2 separate regions of the Homo sapiens genome follow, and region 1 is linked to region 2. The links are contacts of gene promoters, found by promoter capture Hi-C in blood cells and fetal thymus (Javierre and others, 2016). All regions are on one chromosome and are shown on one strand. Each heading gives the region's core, a stretch centred on a gene start or on the middle of the fragment in contact. The rest is flanking DNA. Distances are from core to core; before and after follow the strand shown. Region 1 holds the start of PIGM (phosphatidylinositol glycan anchor biosynthesis class M). Region 2 holds the start of ATP1A4 (ATPase Na+/K+ transporting subunit alpha 4).

Evidence for each region. The method cuts DNA at HindIII sites, captures the fragments that hold promoters and counts their contacts. A CHiCAGO score of 5 or more calls a contact.
Region 1: the fragment with the promoter of PIGM here is called in contact with the fragment with the promoter of ATP1A4 in region 2 in 15 of 17 cell types (M0 macrophages, M1 macrophages, erythroblasts and 12 more); the score reaches 12.0 in M0 macrophages.

The regions. Positions count from the first base shown.
Region 1 is chr1:160,027,024-160,033,377 of GRCh38, forward strand. PIGM (phosphatidylinositol glycan anchor biosynthesis class M) reads right to left here and starts at 4,967. Exons shown (of 1, transcript NM_145167.3): 1 at 1-4,967. The coding sequence starts at 4,716. The coding sequence ends at 3,445. The HindIII fragment of the contact is 5,226 bases long and covers 3,040-6,354 here.
Region 2 is chr1:160,149,621-160,156,653 of GRCh38, forward strand. It overlaps ATP1A4 (ATPase Na+/K+ transporting subunit alpha 4), which reads left to right and starts at 1,983. Exons shown (of 22, transcript NM_144699.4): 1 at 1,983-2,567; 2 at 3,545-3,604; 3 at 5,425-5,628; 4 at 6,425-6,538. The coding sequence starts at 2,421. The HindIII fragment of the contact is 4,407 bases long and covers 1-4,381 here.

The DNA.
Region 1 (6,354 bases), core at 3,717-6,216, 120 kb before region 2:
CAGGCTGGTCTCAAACTCCTGTCCTCAAGTGATCCTCCTGCCTCAGCTTCCCAAAGCATTGGGATTATAGGCATGAACCACCATGCCCAGCTCTTAAAATCGTTTATAATAAAACATGAGGGGTGGGGGGAACCAAGAGGTTGCATTTAGGGACAATCCTAGGTATAATTTTTCCATCTTTTTCCTTTTCCATTCATAGTACAGATGGTTAGGGGAGAGGGTGGTAATGCAGAAAACAACTGATATTAGAGAAGTAACAGTAAATTCAGCCACAAGTCAACTGAAAGACAAGTTCTACACAACTTCTGAAACATCTTGTAAGAGTCCAGATGGTGAGAAGTCAGTAACTAAAATCAGTGGTTTTAGGAATTCTTTTGCCAGGAAGGAACAAAGCACTGGGTGGGAGTATTAGCCTTTCCAATGGGCCTATCAAGAGAATTTATCCAGGAATATTTAGGAACCACATTCTAAAGACGTTACAAAGGCAATTACAGAAGAAAATGTCATGTAGTTCCCTCTGTTCAGAACACACACAATCTTGAGAATCATCCCTCTTTATCTAATAATTAATGCTTACCTGCAAATGAACATATCAATCTTAAGAGGTGGTATAAGAAAAAAAGAATTATATAGGAAATAAGCCAAAGTCTTATAAAATTTGAAGGTGTTATTAAAGGATTAAAAAGGAAACAAAAGGATTGTGATAAGAAGCAAAAAAAAAACATTTTTTTTACATAACCAGAAAACAAATTAAAAAATTAAAATCCCCCAAGAAACCAAATTAACTCATTTTTTTAGTTAACTTACTAAATGTTTTGGAACATACAAAGTGCAAAATATCTTTTGCATCCCTTTAAGAAACACCTGCCTTTCTTTGGTAAAGAATTTCTTGCAGGAAAGATTCCAAAGTTTGAAGTTCCCTCCAACGATCCCAGCAGAAATGTTTCTAACTTCTAAGAATGTCCTAAGAGAATGAGCTAAAACACAGAAAATGTTGAAAGTCTTATTTAGAATATTAAAAACTGGAAGCAATCTAAAGGTCTAACAGTGGAAGAATGATGTATTTATAATGTGAATATACATGTGATGTCCAACAATTTCAATTCTAAGTATGAAGAGTAAGCCACAATAAAGAATGTTAAAAAACAATAATTAGTAAGTAAATATAATTATAAAACCAAGTCAGAAATACAAAAAAAGGGACAACTATACTGGAATGATGAAATTCGATTTCTGTTTCCTGCCTCCTCCCTTGCTGGCTCTATAATTTTTTTTTTTAATTCTTAGAATAGGAAAAAAAGGTAAGAATGCTATGGCTGGAAGGCCACTAGTAAACAAGCACATATAAAGGGTCCTCAAGACAAGACCTAATATGGGTATGAAACTAAATGTTATAAGGAAGGTCATTGTCCTCAGCAACTGACTCTGCTATTTTTACCCCAAACAGGAGCCCATACAAAACCACCCCATTCTTTCCCTCTTTCTAATGAAAGGTCCCAAAAGGTATCCATCCAAGAAGTGCTGCCAATAATAACATTGTTAATTGTGACCAGCCTATAAACATCTTATTTGCAAAGGATTTTAGGCCTGAACTGACATGAAATATAATACTGTGGAACTTTTTTTGTCTTTTTGTGAGTGTTTTCTGACTGCAAAAGAACAGTTCATCAAATTACTTATCTTTTAAAAAACACAATCACAAAATCATATTCATATACTGCTACTGTAGTATTAGGGAATCCCAAGCCTAGACAGGCTGTTTAATTAAAAAAAAAAATGTAAGGATGCTTGTTTAAACAACTCAGAAAGCATTTTTCCCCCAGAAATATTACAGTGATAAGGGAAACGATCTGACCACCTAAGCCTCAGTTCCACAATCTCCCTCTAAATTCTCTGGTCTAGAAAACCCATGGCTCTCTGGGATGCTTCTTATGCTTTTCAGGAGTTTCCCTCACAGGTCTGCATTTCTATCATGGAATTTTTGATTTTTTTTTTTAAGCTAGGAAATGTCTTACTAACAAGTTGTTTTATCACCTAAAATCTACTATTATCCATTTTTACAACATAGATAACACTTGGTTGACTTAAATTCTAGAAGAAAAAAGTCTTGCTTTAGCAATCAAAAACTTAAAAACAAAGGGGTAAGAGGATACTGAAATGTACTAATAGTTTGTGTAGGACCACAAACATTAAAGGCAAGATGATAGTTTTAAAAATGTAATAACTCAAGTCTAAACATGAATGAATTTAAATTTAATCCTTTTTGTATGAAACCAAATAGCAGTCTAATACCACTGGGACTAAGTGCTATAAAAGTAAGTAATAAAACAAATACATGAAACATGATTACAATTTAAATTCTTTGGATTATCTTTTTTTTTTTTTTTTTTTGATATGGAGTCTTGCTCTGTCGCCCAGGCTGGAGCGCAGTGGTGCCATCTCGGCTCACTACAGGCTCCACCTCCGGAGTTCACGCCATTCTCCTGCCTCAGCCTCCCGAGGAGTAGCTGGGACTACAGGCACCCACCACGCCCGGCTAATTTTTTGTATTTTTAGTAGAGAGGGGTTTCACCGTGTTAGCCAGGATGGTCTCAATCTCCTGACCTCGTGATCTGCCCGCCTTGGCCTCCCAAAGTCTTTGGATTATCTTGTAAGACCCCACATTTAATATAGAAGTTTAAAACTCTCTAAAATAATACTACTAAGCATCTTAGTATTATTTAATACTTTTCTATCTAAAAAGTTGTCCTTTCCTTTTTTTTTTTTTTTTTTTTTTTGAGACAGGGTCTTGCTCTGGGCTCAAGCAATTCTCCCACCTCAGCCTCCCATGCAGCTATGACTACAGGGGTGCACCACAACACCTGGCTAATTTTTTTTTTTTTTTTTGAGACTAGGTCTCACCATCTTGCCCCAGGTGGGTCTAGAACTCCTGAACTCAAGCGACCCTCCCACCTCAGCCTCCCAAAGTGCTGAGACTACAGGCAAGGGCCACCATACACAGTTTAAGAATATTTTTTGGATTTTCACAGCTGTCAGGAAAGCTTTAGAAAGAAAAGATGGGTGTTAAAAGTTAAGACACAGCTTAAGACAGAAGCATTGTAAAACAGGAACAAATACTGGCTTAAACCTGATGTCTCTAACTATATTCCTCTATTTTAAGAATGTTTTAGTATCTGATAGTTTCATCAGCCTTTCCATTTTCCAATATGTGACCTTTATTCCCACCATGTCCCAAATAAACGAGTCCTAGGATTTCCTAGAAGGTGGACCTCAATTATTGTGTCCCTTTTATATATAAGGCAAACATTGCTTTTAAGTTCTGTTGGAACATGGGAACTTTCACTAGAATGCTTAGAATGTTCAGAAAAAATGTCCCAAAGCTCTCTTCTGGTCCATACAAGACAATCAGAATGTAACACAGTAGCAGAGGGTGTGGAACATACACTAGTCATATTTGATTCTCTCTGTCAGGGGTTCTTCTTTGTAATGGGAAATAATTTGAATCAGGATGGAACAATTGATAAGAAGAAAGAACAAACCAGCTAACCAAATAAACAGAAAGGTGTTCTTTCCTTGAAACTCTAGAACATAGGCAGGAGCCAGCCACATGGCCTGCCCTATAAACCATAACATTAGGAGAACTACAGCTCTTTTCCAAGGCATTCTGACTAGTGGCATCACAAGAGGCAGTAAGCAGAGGTACCAAAGAAAGTACTGGGAGGTGCAGACTTTGTTAAAAGTCACAAAAATGGACGTATGAAGAAAACAACAAAAAACGAGGTCTCTGTAATAGGCGAAAGACACAGCTGAAAGCAAGATGAGCTGTGGCAGGAATGCAGCAATTCCCAGGGAAAAACTCCACTTGCTCTCTGCAGTCAAATACAGCATGTAGAAGTACGGAGAAAAGTTGTGACGGATATCCCGCCTAGTCAGGTGATAAAAGTAGGTGTGTTCCAAAAATTCCCAGCCGTACTCATAGTAAAAACCAAAGCTCAGGGCAAAAAACGTGAGTCCAGCAACTGCTACAAACAGCAGCACAGCCCGATTACACAGCCTTTTCAGGAGCTCGTACAAACAAGCCTGGAAAGTGTACCGGAATTGACGGAGGCTTTTGTCATTGTCGCGATCTGGAAGCAGGTGGAGGGTTATGGGAAGGATGTAAGTCACTGGATATATCTTCATATGCACCGCGAAACCATAGAATACAGCTGCACACGCGACGAGTCTTTTCTTTATCAAGTAGAGGACCATCAGGACCAGGGAGGCGACAATAGAGTCCGCATTACCGCGGCTGGATACTGCCATAGGCAGGGGGTTAAGAAGCCAAAAGACACAGTAGCCACAAGCCTGGCGGCGCCCCAGCCCCTTCAGCAGCAGCAGGCGGTATAAGAGGAAAGCGGTGAGGAGGTCGCAGCTGATGAAGAGAAACTTTCCAAAGAGCTCGCTGAGGTAGATGTTGGGAGTGAGGAGCCAACCCAGCAGCGGGGTGTAACGGTACGTGGCTCTCAGGTAAGGCGAGCGCCCCTCCGTGACGAAGCGCGCGGCGTCGGTGAAGACCTGGTAGTCGATGTCCGTATACCTCACGTGCAGGGTCCGGTCCTGGAAGACGCCATAGAAAACCAGGGCGACTCTGGCTAGAAAGGCCACACCAAAGACGCCGGCTGGAGCCACCTTCAAGTTCAGGAGCCATTCGCCCCAGTGCTTGGTGGAGCCCATGATCTGACCGTGCGACAGCTGCTTAGCCCCAGCTCCAAACTGCCTTCGTACTTCTAACCTTCCCTTCGGTTCTTTGCAGCAGGTGGCCGCCGCATCTCCCACCCGCCAGGCTGCCAACCGAAACGACTGCAGACTATCACATCCGGCATGAAGCCCCGCCCCCGTACTGCTACCTGTCTCCAGCCCCGCGCGGTCTTCTCAGCCGCCCGAGCCAAAAACTTGCCTTCCTCTGGATGGACGGTCTCGCTTCCGCTTCTTCTTCCAGCGGAGGCGGGATTTCCGGTCCGTGGGAGGGGAGACGTCCGCTTGCCGGGAAATCCGGCACTGGCTTGAGGATTTTATGGAGTGGAGTGAGATTTCTTTGTAAGTGACAGCCCGCCGCCCCCCGCCCTCTTCCCGCGCCCCATTTCCAGTCCTCAGAGGAAAACCCTCCGACGAGCAGCGAGCTGCGGGCTGCGCGCTACATCCTTCAGTCCTGGGCTGGAGATCCGAGAGTGAAAAATGTAGGAGTGAAAGGAAGATAAGCCTTCTCATGCTTTACTCCACTAGCTCGCCGGTATTCACCGGGGATTTGTGGGCCCCGGACAGGACAGGATGAGTTGAAGGGGGCTGAGTGTGTATGTTCCATGCAATATTGGAGGCATACTTATATTTTTAAATTACTAGTTGGTAATCAGAGATTCAGATTTAAGTGGGCAGCTTGTATTTTATCCGGCAACCCTAGGTGAAGGTGATGGGAAAGAAGACAGGAAAGCGTCACAAAATTCCTTAACTTGTCAGCCCCTTATGCCTCAGTATCTCTGTATTTGCTATTTCTTCTGTCAAAGTTGCCATCCGCTCTCCAATCACTCTGGCAAATACCTACTCAACCCTTCAGGCATCAGTGCAAGTGTTAGCTCCCAGCTCCCACTCACTTCCTCATCACGCAGAATGAATGACTTAGATGCCAGTCCCCTCCCCTGTCCGAGGATAGGTAGACTGGGGCGGACGGGATCTAAGTTCCAGAAAATCACTCACACAGAAGACCCTGCCATGCTACTAAAAGTTCTCCCAGTGCTCCAGAACTCCCTGGTCATTCCTTTGTTACAGCATTTGTCACACTGCTTTGTAATAACTGTTTTTGTTTGTTTTGCTCTCCTAGTTTTCCATCAGGACACTTTCAATTCTTCGGTATCAGAGATTATCTTGTTCTTTTCTCTACCTCAACATCTAACACAGTACTAGTAGCCATTCAGTAAAGTTGAATTGATTTTAGAGGTTCCTCCTACCAGAATATTTCTAGAGTGGCATCTTTGGATTGCTCCCAACTCCCAGTTATTTTCCCTTTTAAATATCCTTTATGTATGTCAAGGTCCCCTGCTCCCCCCACCCCACTCCAACCCTACTTCCATGAATTTCTTGCCAAGGACTGTAACCCATTAGCTCTTCCCTTTCCGTGGTTACTTAGTGCACTTACATAGTCCGCATTGTAGAATTTGATACTTTATTTTAGATTGTATTCATAGCCCTCACAAGAGATTATAGGGTTCTTGGGGGTAGAAATTATATCTTATCCTTAATTTTTTTCAATTATGTGTAATTTATTGTAGTCTTAGGCACATGGTAAATGCTTAGTAAATACTGACTAATTGGATTTTA
Region 2 (7,033 bases), core at 733-3,232:
GAGAGTTGAATGATTGTTTAAAAGTTGAAAAATACCTCCTTTTAGATATCTATTTGTATAAACATAGAAAAAAGACTGGAAGGACATGCAGCACATTGTTACCAGCAGTAACTTCAGCAGTGGGGAGAATCTGAGTTTGGAGGGAGGGAAGGTGGGGCTTTCAATTTTTATCTTAAACATTTTTAATAGAGAAGAAAAATCCAATCTGTTAAAGAAATAGACGATCATTTATCCCAGCTGGGAAGGGAGCATTTCTATTTCTGAATATTCAAGGAGGATTGCATCAGCACCAAGATGAATGTTTCCAGATACAGTCATATTTTTAAAAAGCATGCCCAACCAAAATGCAATTAAATAAATATCAGGCCAGGCTTGGTGTCTCACTTATGTAATCCCAACATTTTAGGAGGCCAAGGCCAAGGATTGCTTGAGCCCAGGAGTTTGAGACCAGCCTGGGCAACACAGGGGCACCCCGTCTTTACTAAAATAAAATAAAAAAAATTAGCCGGGCATGGTGGCACATGCCTGTGGTCCCAGCTACTTGGGAGGCTGAGGTGGGAGGATCACTTGGACCTGGGAGGTTGAGGCTGGAGTAAGCCATAATCGCACCATTACACTCCAGCCTGGGCAACAAAGTGAGATCCTGTCTCAAAAAGTAAATAAACAAATATCAAACAACAGAATGGGAAAATCTATGTGACGTGCATAATTGAAAAATATATATAATGGTTGACAGAAAAGTATAGATGCTTCAGATTATTCTTGGAAGGAGGTAGAATCCTATGGACATGCAAAACATATATACAGTTAATATAGTCAAAGCACTTACTGAGACACCAGAGAAGGTCAATGGAAGAGGTAAGTACATCATTTTAAAATGAGAAAATGCAACGCTATCACATGGAAAAGCATATTTTTACCCTCACTGAGAAGAGCTGCATATTAATCCACAAATAAAACTACTACTGAATTCAAGCTACCTATTGAGCACATACTATATATGTCACATAGTGCTTTTTGTAGAGCACCTCACTTAAGGTAGAAGGTATCCTCTTTTAAAAATAAGAAAAGAGAGGTACAGAGGTTAGGTAACTTGCTCAAAGCCACACAGCTGACAAGTGGAGGAGTTGGGATTGAAATCCAGGACTGGTTCCAGAGCCCAAGATCTGATCTATTCTGCTAGCTGATCTCCTAAAATTAAAAGATCAAACCCAATGTTAGTGGAAAAGTGTGCCTTGCTAAAAAACACACACAGAGTACCTGCTTTTTTTTTTTTTTTGAGATGGAGTCTCAAAAACAGACGGGAGAATATTAGTCCAAACTGCAACTGCACCATTTTGTAAGCTCCCTGCTATGGTTTTTTGTTTGTTTGTTTGTTTGTTTGTTTGTTTGTTTGTTTGTCTGAGATGGAGTCACTCTGTCACCGAGGCTGGAGTGCAGTGATGCAATCTCAATTCACTGCAACCTCTGCCTTCTGGATTCAGATGTTTCTCCTGCCTCAGCCTCCCGAGCAGCTGGGATTACAGGTGCCCACCACCACACCTGGCTAAATTTTGTATTTTTAGTAGAGATGGGGTTTCACCATACTGGCCACGAAGGTCTCGATCTCAGCCTCCCAAAGTGCTGGGATTACAGGCATGAGCCACCGCGCCCGGCCGAATACCCGCTTTATTTTTGAGTCATCTATTTGGCATACCTCTAAGCCTCCAAAGTCTGCAGGACCACACAAGAACTTTGTTCTAGTTCTGCCCTCAGACTGAAACTCTTTCTGTAGCAGGGCCTGCTCCAATCGTCCTCAAACCCAAAGACTGAGACTTCTAGGTTCTTGGTTAAAACCTTCATGAGGCCTTTGCGACAGCAGACCTGGACCATCGCCAAGGCAAGACTTCTGGATTCTTGGTTAGAACTTTCAGGAGGCCTTTGTGATGCCAGACCTGGGTCATTGCCCCAGCAACCACAGGGCCTGGGACTGGGGGGTTCCCAGATCCTTGAAGCTCACTCCGCCTCCTCACTCTCACTGCATTTCCCACCTTCCTGTGGGCCTTGCGGCATCTTCATCACTGAGGCACCTGGTTACGCTTCACCTCTTGTTTCCTGCCCTCACTGCATTCCCTCACCTCTACCTTTTTATCCTTCCACCCTAGGCTTCTCTCCTCCCTCTTCCCTCACTCCTGACTCTTCCTCTTCCCAGCGGACGGCTGGAGGACCGCTCAGTCTCTCCTCTCTCACTTCCCTTCCTCTCTCTCACCTTCACCACCCAACACCTCCCTCCCTGCCTCTTTCTTTCTGCTCCCTCATTCTCTCCCCACCACTCTCTTCTCGTGGCCCCCTTGCCCGCGCGCCCTCTTCCCTTCCCCTTGCCTCACTCTCTCAGCTTTCTTCCCACAGTTGAGCTCGGGCAGCTCTTTCTGGGGATAGCTATGGGGCTTTGGGGGAAGAAAGGGACAGTGGCTCCCCATGACCAGAGTCCAAGACGAAGACCTAAAAAAGGGCTTATCAAGAAAAAAATGGTGAAGAGGGAAAAACAGAAGCGCAATATGGAGGAACTGAAGAAGGAAGTGGTCATGGTGAGGCCACCCAAAGTGGGCGCTGACAGCTGCCCTCTGAAAACACTCCTCCACCTATCTTTAACATCTTACCTTGAGAATGAAACACACAGGCCAGAGCCACATCTCTTCTCTGTTAGGCTTTGGAGGGAAGGAGAGGGTTAAAAAAAAAAAAAAAGATACACACAGAGAGACAGGGCAGCTCAACAGCAAGCACAGGTATATTGCAGACACCTGTGGAAGTGGGGGATCAGCTTAATTCCACAGTCCACTGCCACTTACAGGCTGGGTACTTATAGGGATGGATGGGAGGAGTCTGGGCTGTATGGCCTGCTGCCTGGCAGGATATCGATAAGATGTTCTCATGATGAGGTGATTTTTGGCCCTTGTTTCCACAGAATATAATCATGGTATTCCCTGGACCTTTGCCCAGCAGGATGTGATAGGGATGTTTCTTTAGTGGGGTCTTTGTCTTTAATTGGGCCTTCGTCTGCCCTGTGGTCAGGTGGTTAGGCAGGCTGTTTCTCTGGCCCGAACCCCCGTGAAATGTTTCACTTTGACCAAGGCCTGTAAAATAGTGGGGAGCTAGGCCGGGCGTGGTGGCTCACACCTGTAATCCCAGCACTTTGGGAGGCTGAGGCAGGCAGATCACCTGAGGTCAGGAGTTTGAGACAAGCCTGGCCAACATGGTGAAACCCCGCCTCTAAAAATACAAAAATTAGCTGGTCCTGGTGATGGGCCCCTGTAATCCCAGCTGCTTGGGAGGCTGAGGCAGGAGAAACACCTGTTGGGAGGCAGAGGTTGCAGTGAGTCGAAATCGCACCACTGTACACCAGCCTGGGCAACAGAGTGACTCCATCTCAAAAAAAGAATTGCAGGGAGCTTACAAAATGGAGCAGTCTCAGTTTGGACTAACATTCTCCAGTCTGTTTCTCCCCCTCTCCCTGGAAATGACCTGGGCCACCCCCTGTCCCTCAATGCCTCTACTGTCCCCTCAGGATGATCACAAATTAACCTTGGAAGAGCTGAGCACCAAGTACTCCGTGGACCTGACAAAGGTGAGTAAGAAGCTCCCTGAGGAGGCAGAGAGTCTCCAACTCTGACTGTGAGGCTGCCAGGACAAAAGCTGAACTAGGAATCCAGCCCCCTAACTTCAAGTCCAACGTTCCCACCCCTCACCCTCTGCCTGGCCACGTTCCATGGACACTACCTGGAAAAAGCTGCAAATGGTAACTACCCTCAAAGAGAGTGTGGGACTAGATAAGAGAATAAGAATGCTTTAGGGCAGTGCTGGTCAAACGTCTTGTCCTTAGGTCTCCTTTACACTCTTAGAATTTATCTAGGACCGCAAAGAACTTGTGCTTATGTGGCTTAAGTCTGTCTATATTTACCATATTAGAAATTAAAATTGAGAGTTTTAAAATGTATTTCTCAATTCATTTAAAAATAACAAAAATAAAGTTATCATATATTCATATATGTTTTGACAAATAACTGTATTTTTCAAAACAAAAAAATTAGCAGCATCTTACATTTTTGCAAACCTCTTCAATGTCTTGCTTTTTAATAGAAGATAGCTGGATTCTCAAATATTTTCTGGATAAAATCTGTTGTGATGTTATGCCAGTTGGCCTTCAGAAAATTCCACTATATACTCTTAAGAAAATGAGAGTAAAAAAAGGCAAACAATGATTTAGTATTACTATGAAAATTGACCTTGTGGACCCCCTGAAAGGGTTTTGGGGCCCCTCGGGTGTTTCAGGCAGAGGTTGGGGAGTGGCTGGTGGTGATTGGCAGGTTCTACTATCATTTTCATTAACAGGAAAAAGCACATAAGCTTGTGCACAAGAGTGGAATGAGAATCTATGCATTCATGTTTTTTGTTAGTATTCTTTTCTATTTATGTTTTTTAAAAATTTATGGGCCAGGTGCCGTGGCTCACACCTGTAATCCAAGGCAGGCAGATCACTTGAGGTCAGTAGTTGGAGACCAGCCTGGCCAACATGGTGAAACCCCATCTGTATTAAAAATACAAAAATTATCCTGGCATAGTGGCACACATCTGCAATCTCAGCTACTTGGGAGGCTGAGGCAGGAGAATCACTTGAATGCAGGAGAATCACTTGAACCTGGGAGATGGAGGTTGCAGTAAGCCGAGATCATGCCACTGCACTCCAGCCTAGGTGACAGAGCAAGACTCTGTCTCAAAAAAAAAAATGGATATGTAGATGTACATATTTATGGTATACATGTATTATTCTGATATAAGCATACAATGTGTAATGATCAAATCAGGGTATTTAGGATACCCATAACCTCAAACATTTATCATTTCTTTGCATGGGAACATTCCAAATCCACTCCTCTAATTATTTTGATATCCATAATAAATTATTAACTATAGTTGCCCTATTGTGCTACCAAACACTAGATCTTATTCCCTCTAAGTTGGAGAGTCAAAGCGTGGTGTTAATATGTTATCAACATTAAGTATTATATTTCATCATGACATTGGCCCTGCACATTATAATTATCTGTATGTATTTATCTCCCCACTGGAGCACCTTAAGGGTAGGGACCATTCTTATTCATGTTGGTATCCTCAGCACCTAGGACCCGAGATAGGTTCTCAAGTTCAAAAAGGTTTGTGAATCAATCCATAAACAAAAACCTTCCTATGTAAGCATGCTAAATGACATCCCTCCTCTAATGCAAATTTTGAAACCTCACCTTATCCAGGAAGAACTTCCAGACTGACCTTCTGAAAGCGTCTTTAGTCTCTAGACCCATTCTGGGGCTCCAAATGTCAGGTTCCCTTTTGCTATGGCTGTTCCTCTTTTCACAGCTCTCTATCCAACCCTATTTCTTCTCTGCACAGGGCCATAGCCACCAAAGGGCAAAGGAAATCCTGACTCGAGGTGGACCCAATACTGTTACCCCACCCCCCACCACTCCAGAATGGGTCAAATTCTGTAAGCAACTGTTCGGAGGCTTCTCCCTCCTACTATGGACTGGGGCCATTCTCTGCTTTGTGGCCTACAGCATCCAGATATATTTCAATGAGGAGCCTACCAAAGACAACGTGAGTCTCTTCAGCTACTACTAGCCAGCCCTATCTCTGCTTAGCCCCAGACACTCTTTTGCTCAGCAGCCTAGCACTCCTGAAGTCCTCTGGCCCAAATCCCTAATTACATTATTACATTAATGTAATAATGTAATAAATGTACATTAATTATAAATGTAATTGATTGTAATTAATTACAATGTAATTGATTAATTACATTGTAATGAATGTAATTAATTATAAAATGTAATTAAATGTACATTAATGTAATAAATGTACATTACATAATAATGTAATAAATGTACATTAATGTAATAAACCAAAATCCCTAATACTCCACTTTCTAAGTTCCATCTTGGTTCCTCTCACCTTTTAATCTAAAAAGCTTCTGGTCCAGTTCCCTGAGGTGCACAATGTCCCCGAAAAACTTGCTGTTCTTTGATGACCTTCCCAATTGATCCCCAAAGCACTTTGCAGTCCCTTTCTCTTCTCCACAATTTTAACCTCATCTCCTTCCTCCCAGCCTCCCTCACAATCCACCCCCTCCATCCAGAGATTAGCCTTCCTGGAGAGAAAGATACAGGCCTTCTCTGACCAGGAATTTTGCTGACGGCTCACCATGGCTCAGGGTTCCTTCCCCAGGAAGCCAAGTGTACTGGTCCCACCTCAGATTCTTCTCTACCCCTCTGCTCTCAACTCAGTCTTACGGTCTCTTACACCTGGTGAAACTGCTGTGCCCCTTGCAGACTGATTTTCTGAGGATGAAGAAGACGACAAGGTCCCACTGATAAACGCTTTCTTTCCCCACCCTCAGCTCTACCTGAGCATCGTACTGTCCGTCGTGGTCATCGTCACTGGCTGCTTCTCCTATTATCAGGAGGCCAAGAGCTCCAAGATCATGGAGTCTTTTAAGAACATGGTGCCTCAGGTAGGATTGGAGTGGGAGGATCTAGTGGGAGCAGGAGCAGGATGTGGCCAAATACACAATGATGAAGTCCCGTGGAAAATTATATCCTATGATAAGTGAGCTGAGTGAGGTTGGTGATGAGGGGGTCAAGGTACTGTATCAGTCCTTAAAAGTACCTGGAAAAGCTGTGAAACCCTGAGAAAGACATAACGTCACCTATGAAGTGCTCTGATCTAGAAGGCAGAATCTGAATCTAAAGAGGAAACACCATACAAACCCCAAATAAGAACATTCTATTTTTTTAAAGAGACAAGTGTTGGTGGGGGTGGGAGCGGGGTGCGGTGGGGGGTGGCTGGATTCTTCAAATATCGATGACCTCAAAGACAAAGAACAGCTGTGGGGATGTTCCAGATTAAACAGACCAGGCATAGTGGCTCACGCCTGTAATCCCAGCACTCTGGGAGGCTGAGGCAACAGGATCACCCAGGAGTTTGAGATGCTATCTCTACAAAAATA